2 separate regions of the Homo sapiens genome follow, and region 1 is linked to region 2. Evidence: promoter capture Hi-C in 16 types of primary human blood cells and fetal thymus (Javierre and others, 2016). All regions are on one chromosome and are shown on one strand. Each heading gives the region's core, a stretch centred on a gene start or on the middle of the fragment in contact. The rest is flanking DNA. Distances are from core to core; before and after follow the strand shown. Region 1 holds the start of BEX2 (brain expressed X-linked 2). Region 2 holds the start of BEX3 (brain expressed X-linked 3).

Region 1 (2,952 bases), core at 155-2,654, 66 kb after region 2:
GTTTTAAATGGTAGAAGTTTTTAATTTGGATAAATCCAATTTCTTATTTTTTTCTTTTGTGATCTGTTCTTTTTGTGTCCTAAGGAATTGTTTTCTCAAAGATTGTAAAGTTTTTCTGTATGTTTTATTCTAGAAGTTTTCTAATTTGAGCTTTTACATTTAGGCCTAGGATCCATTTTGAATTAATTTGTGTATAGTATAAATAAAAGGCAAGGCTCCTTTTTTTCCTTTAAGAATTCTGTTATTTCAGCACCATTAGTTTAAAAGACTATACTTTCCATATAGAATTACTTTGATATCTTTGTCAAAAACTAATTAACAACATACGTATGGGTCTATTTCTGGAGTCTATTCTGTTCTATTGATCTACAGGTCTATGTTTACTACTACACTAACTTTATTATTACACCTTAAGTCTTGAAATAATATAATGTAACTCTCAAGATTTGTAGGATATTTTAAAAAAATTATTTGTCTATTCTAGGTCCTTTGCATTTTCAAATAAATTTATGAGTACGTTTGTAATATTTATCTTGTAGCTGCAACCTTCTTAAAATCAATTCTTACTCCTATAGTAGGTTTACCGTAGATGTCTCTGGATTTCCTAAATACATGATTACTTGATCTTTAAATAAAGACATACTTATCGTTTGAACCAGAAATTTGTGAAAAAGGCCTTTTTTTTCCTTTTAGTTATGAAAACCCAACAAGGTTCTGTAGCACTACAACTCACTAGCTCATTTCATAGAAGGGCCTCATGTGTCCAGGGGCCCCTCAAAAGGGGAGCCATCAGCTGCCCTGTCCTTTTCCAAGTTCTAAAAAAGCAGCTGCGTGTAGAGTCTATATTTATATAATGACTTAACAGGACAGGTGGTTGGGACATTTTGCCCAACTTTAATCCCGTCTTTCAAGTAAAAATAACTTTTTTTCCTTTTTAAAGAAGTATATTAATTTTTTGTGTTTTACAAAAGAAATAATACAGAAAAGGTATTAAGAATGAGAAAAGCCTACTCTCTTGTGCTCCTTTCCTGATACACCTCTTCCACTCATTTTAGTGGAGAGAAAACGGAGAATATTGGTAGGAGGACAGAAGGAGGTAGACAGGCAGAAGGAGGTGAATCCTGGGAGCCAAGGGCAGAGAGAGGCAAGTCCCCAGAGAAGTGGGAATGGCCAACAGCTCCCTGAGAAGATACCTTCCGTCCTTCCTGGGCAAGCAGGGGAAGTCTCAAGAATATACAGAGAAGGAAGAGTGGCAGAGCCCAGGCTGGGGATGTTAAAAGGGACTCCCGGTGAGGATGGGGGCGGGCCCGAAAGCACCACCTGACTCCGGGCTGCAGGAGGGGGCGTGGGACGGGGGCGGAGCCTCTGGCGATGACAACAGCCACACGTGATCGGCCAACACTGAGTCTTACCTCGTTGTGGCGTCAGAACCGCCGTCGCTCGCTCCCTTCTCGGCAGTGGTACCTGTTCCCGGTGTCCCTGAGGACGTGCGGGCCAGGTACGGCCCCGAAAGTAGGAAGCGGAGGGGGAGCAGGTAAGGGACCCGGAGGGGGTCCCTGGGGTTGGTGTGGGGGAGCAGCCCCGGCCTGCGGATGCCCCATCCCCGGGCAGCAGCGCGGAGACGCAGCCGGTCCACGATGCAGCCCCGGGGCCCCGCCGCGGGACCGCGAGCCTTGTGTGAGCGGAGGGGTGCCCGGCCCCGCGGGAGCCGGCGATCCTGAGGCTACGACCTTTCGGAAGCACCTGCCTCCGTCACCAGCGCAAGCTTTTCCAACACCCCTGCTCCGCCCTTCTTGATGCAGAAAATGGTGGTCAGCTTGGGGGGCTGGGCGGCTGAGGCGGGGGGCGAGAGCGGCTAGGAGGGCCCGGGCCCGGCGTGGGGAAGGGGCCGGGTGGCGGCGGGTCCTCTCTAGCGTTCCGCTGCAGCAGCCCCCACTCTTCCCACCCCGGCCGTCTGCAGGTTTGCGGGGCCAAGTGTTGCGGCGACGCACCTCACGTCGAGAATCGGGAGGAGGAGACTGCAAGGATAGGCCCAGGTCAGTGCGAGGGACGGTGGTGGGGAGGGGGTCAGAACATGAGGAAAGCCCAGTCTGAGACCCCAATCCGTGCCTTCACCCCCACACTTAGCAATCCCCCACCCCCACCCCTTCTTCGTCCTCCATTTTGGTGCCTGCAGAGGCCTGGAGATGGATCTGCAGAGAAGATGGTGGGCTTTGCGGGAGAGAAGGGCACAGACTGGCTCCCCTCGCCCCCCCGAGGGTACATGGGGCCTCTCTGGTGGAAAAAAAATGAAATTTAAAAAAGGCCTTTGAAATCCAGGGCTCTGAATTTTGAAAGGTGGGTAGTCGGGCCTCTGTCCTCGGTGCTGATCAGTTCACCAAGAATTGAGTCCATTTTCTCTCTGTCTCCTAGGAGTAATGGAGTCCAAAGAGGAACGAGCGTTAAACAATCTCATCGTGGAAAATGTCAACCAGGAAAATGATGAAAAAGATGAAAAGGAGCAAGTTGCTAATAAAGGGGAGCCCTTGGCCCTACCTTTGAATGTTAGTGAATACTGTGTGCCTAGAGGAAACCGTAGGCGGTTCCGCGTTAGGCAGCCCATCCTGCAGTATAGATGGGACATAATGCATAGGCTTGGAGAGCCACAGGCAAGGATGAGAGAGGAGAATATGGAAAGGATTGGGGAGGAGGTGAGACAGCTGATGGAAAAGCTGAGGGAAAAGCAGTTGAGTCATAGTTTGCGGGCAGTCAGCACTGATCCCCCTCACCATGACCATCACGATGAGTTTTGCCTTATGCCCTGAATCCTGATGGTTTCCCTGAAGTTAATAGGGAGACCCCTGCTTCCTAAACTTACACATTTGTGGTGTACCTTTGTCGTAAACGTTTTGATGTTACCTATTTCTTGTGGGTCTCCTATTACCAGCTTCTAAATGAATGTTGTTTTTGACC
Region 2 (3,031 bases), core at 371-2,870:
TCTAGTGTATTTAATCTCAGATTTTTTTTTAGTTCATCTGTTATATGTAAGTATACATTTTTAATGAGACAATAAATGTATAGATTGCTTTTTAAATTGCTTTATTAGCTTTAAATTTTTCCATGCAAATGGGTGAAACTACTGCTGACAGAAACTTACACTGAGTGCAAAGGCAATCTTCAAATAGAAGCTGGCAACACAAGACCCACTTGACACATGGAAATAACATAGGGTTCACAGCAAACGGATCAGTAAAGGCATATTAGGAAAATGCAAGGAAAAAGAAAACAGCGGGAATCACAGTATTAATCTCATGATAAATGGCAGGAGTCAAGGCATAAGGCAAAATTCATCATGATGGTCATGGTGATTAGAGAGCTCCCCCATAAGGATACGCAGACAATTCCTCAACTGCAGCTCCCTAAGTTTTCTTCTGATTTCTCTCATCTCCTCCATGAATATTTCCATATCATCTCCATCTCCACCCATCCCATCATTGATCTGCCTATTGGGTATGGCCCATCGAAAATTAGGGGCAAGTCGGCGAGCCTGTCCCCGTCGATTTCCTGCAGGCTGGTGGCCTTCACCTCCTCCCAAAGGGCGGTCTTCCTCTCCATTCTGCATAGGCTGCTCCATCTCTTCGTTTTCCTGGTGAATATTTGCCATGATGAGATTTTTTTTTTCTGGTTGTTTTTCTTTGAACACAAGTAAGACAAAGGCAAGGAGAGAGACTGAATGCTTGGTGCTCTGACCAGCAGGATTCAGAGCCCTGATATCAAAGGATTTTTTAATTTCGTTTTTTCCCACCTTAGAAGTTCCGCGCGTCCTCTACGGGGCCTCCAATTAAAGCCCCTCCCTCCAGCTTTCTCCCCTTACCTCCCTTCCCCCAAACCCACCATTTTTCGTTTCCCGGGATTCTTTCCCAGAGCTTTGCAGGCACCAAAATGGAGGACCGGTATAGGAGTGGGGGATGGGGTGGAGGGGGTTGGGGTCTCAGACTGGGCTTTCCTTACGTTCCGACCCCCGCCCCACCACCGTCCCTCGCACCGACCTGGGCCTATCCTTGCAGTCTCCTTCTCCTCCGGATTCTCGCCGCGAGGTGCGCCGCGGAGACACTTAGCCTCGCAGACCTGCAGTCGAGCCGGGGTGGGGGTTGTGGGGGGTGGGGGCTGCTGCAGCGGAACGCTAGCGAAGACCCGCCGCCGCCCGGCCCTTTCCGTGCTCCGAGCCCGGGCTCCCCTCGCTGCCAGCGCCCCGCGTCTCCCGCCCCCCACCCCCACCCCACCCTCGAACGCCCAGCCCCCCGCGGTGTTCGCTGTTTTCCTGCAGGGACTCGGGGGTGGGTTTCCATCGCTCTTGGTGGCTCTGCCGCCCCTGGAAACCCAGCCGCCCCTGCTTCCCCATCCCTGGGGGCCTCTGTGTTCCCAAGCATGTTGGGGTGTGGAGAAAGCTGGCGGGGACCCCCTGCGCTGTTCTGCGCCTGTCGCCGAGGTCGGTCAGCCGCTGCTGGCATGGCCGGGGCTCACGGGCCCCGGAGCCCTTACCTGCTCCGCTTTTCCCCGGGCCGAATGCCAGCCCGCCGAGCTCAGGGCAGCGGGGAGCTGGTAGCCAGACGCGAGTGACGACTGCACCGAAGGCTGCGTCGCTCTGCAGCTCTGGGTCACGTGAGGGCCGCGCGTCACCACCGAGCTCGCCCCCCAACTTGGGCGGCCAGTGCAGCAGGATCTCCCCCTTCCCCCCACCCGCCACCGCCATATGCACGCGCAAAAAACAGCCTCCCTACTCCCGTCTGCATGAGGTGCCCCAGAGCGCACAGCCCTGTCACTCTTCTCGGTCCTCTCCAATCTGAGGGCCCACAAGTGGCATCACTGCTCTGCGGTTGGAGTTTGCCCTCCTCTGGTTACCAGGGAGGGTCTGCATCATCCTCCACCACTGCCCCCTCTCACTTCAGGCCTTGGCTTTGGCCTTTTCTGCTTTCTCTCCTTTTCTACCTGGCAACATGCTTTGCGCTGCACTCCCACTTCTACCCCTTGCGTGTGCACAGCCATCAATGCCCACGTAGCCCCTGAATTCCTACCCTTCTAGAAAATTTAGAGTGAGGGCTAAGGTGGGGAGGCAGGAGGGCATTTGTCAGAAAGCGGGGCAAGGAAGTGGAGTGGACTGTATATATTTCTTTTTATTTCCTTAAAAAATCTGCATGCTTCAGAAAATTATAAATTATAAGTTTTTAATTTTGAAAGAAATGCTGGTTGGGCGCGGTGGCGTACCTGTAATCCCAGCACTTTGGGAGGCCGAGGCGGGTGGATCACTTGAGGCCAGTAGTGTGAGACCAGCCTGGCCAACATGGTGAGACCCCATCTCTACTAAAAATACAAAAATTAGCTGGGCGTGGTGGCGTGCGCCTGTAATCCCAGCTACTCGGGGGGCTGAGGCAGGAGAATCGCTTGAACCTGGGAGGCGGAGGTTGCAGTGAGCCGGGATCGCACCACTGCACTCCAGCCTGGGCGACAGAGCAAGACCCTGTCAAAAAAAAAAAAAAAAAAAAAAAAAAAAAAGGAAATGCTTTATCCTGCACAATGAAATCTCTCATTGTTTATGTTGACCTGTACCACACAAAATATTTTTTCTGGGCTCCACACAACATCAAGCCATTACTTTTGATACATACTAGCTCGTTTAAAATTTTATTTTTGGCCGGGCATGGTGGCTCACGCCTGTAATCCCAGCACTTTGGGAGGCCGAGGCGGGCGGATCACGAGGTCAGGAGATCGAGACCATCCTGGCTAATACGGTGAAACTCCGTCTCTACTAAAAATACAAAAAAATTAGCCAGGCGTGGTGGCACGTGCCTGTAGTCCCAGCTACTCGGGAGGCTGAGGCAGGAGAATCGTTGAACCCGGGAGGCAGAGGTTGCAGTGAGCCGCGTCGCACCACTGCACTTCAGTCTAGGCGGCAGAGCGAGACTCCGTCTCCAAAAAAAAAAAAAAGAAAAGAAAAAAATATATAAAAAGGCGGGACTCTTTCTTTTTCT

Evidence for each region. Contacts are between HindIII fragments. The CHiCAGO score rates a contact against its expected background, and 5 or more counts as called.
Region 1: the fragment with the promoter of BEX2 here is called in contact with the fragment with the promoter of BEX3 in region 2 in 1 of 17 cell types (fetal thymus); the score reaches 6.9 in fetal thymus.

The regions. Positions count from the first base shown.
Region 1 is chrX:103,309,442-103,312,393 of GRCh38, reverse strand. It overlaps BEX2 (brain expressed X-linked 2), which reads left to right and starts at 1,404. Exons shown (of 3, transcript NM_032621.4): 1 at 1,404-1,534; 2 at 1,961-2,036; 3 at 2,413-2,952. The coding sequence starts at 2,418. The coding sequence ends at 2,804. RefSeq lists a silencer at 1,579-1,668. The HindIII fragment of the contact is 10,238 bases long and covers 1-1,767 here.
Region 2 is chrX:103,375,127-103,378,157 of GRCh38, reverse strand. It overlaps BEX3 (brain expressed X-linked 3), which reads right to left and starts at 1,620. Exons shown (of 3, transcript NM_206917.3): 1 at 1,545-1,620; 2 at 1,052-1,130; 3 at 1-648. The coding sequence starts at 636. The coding sequence ends at 331. The HindIII fragment of the contact is 24,241 bases long and covers 1-3,031 here.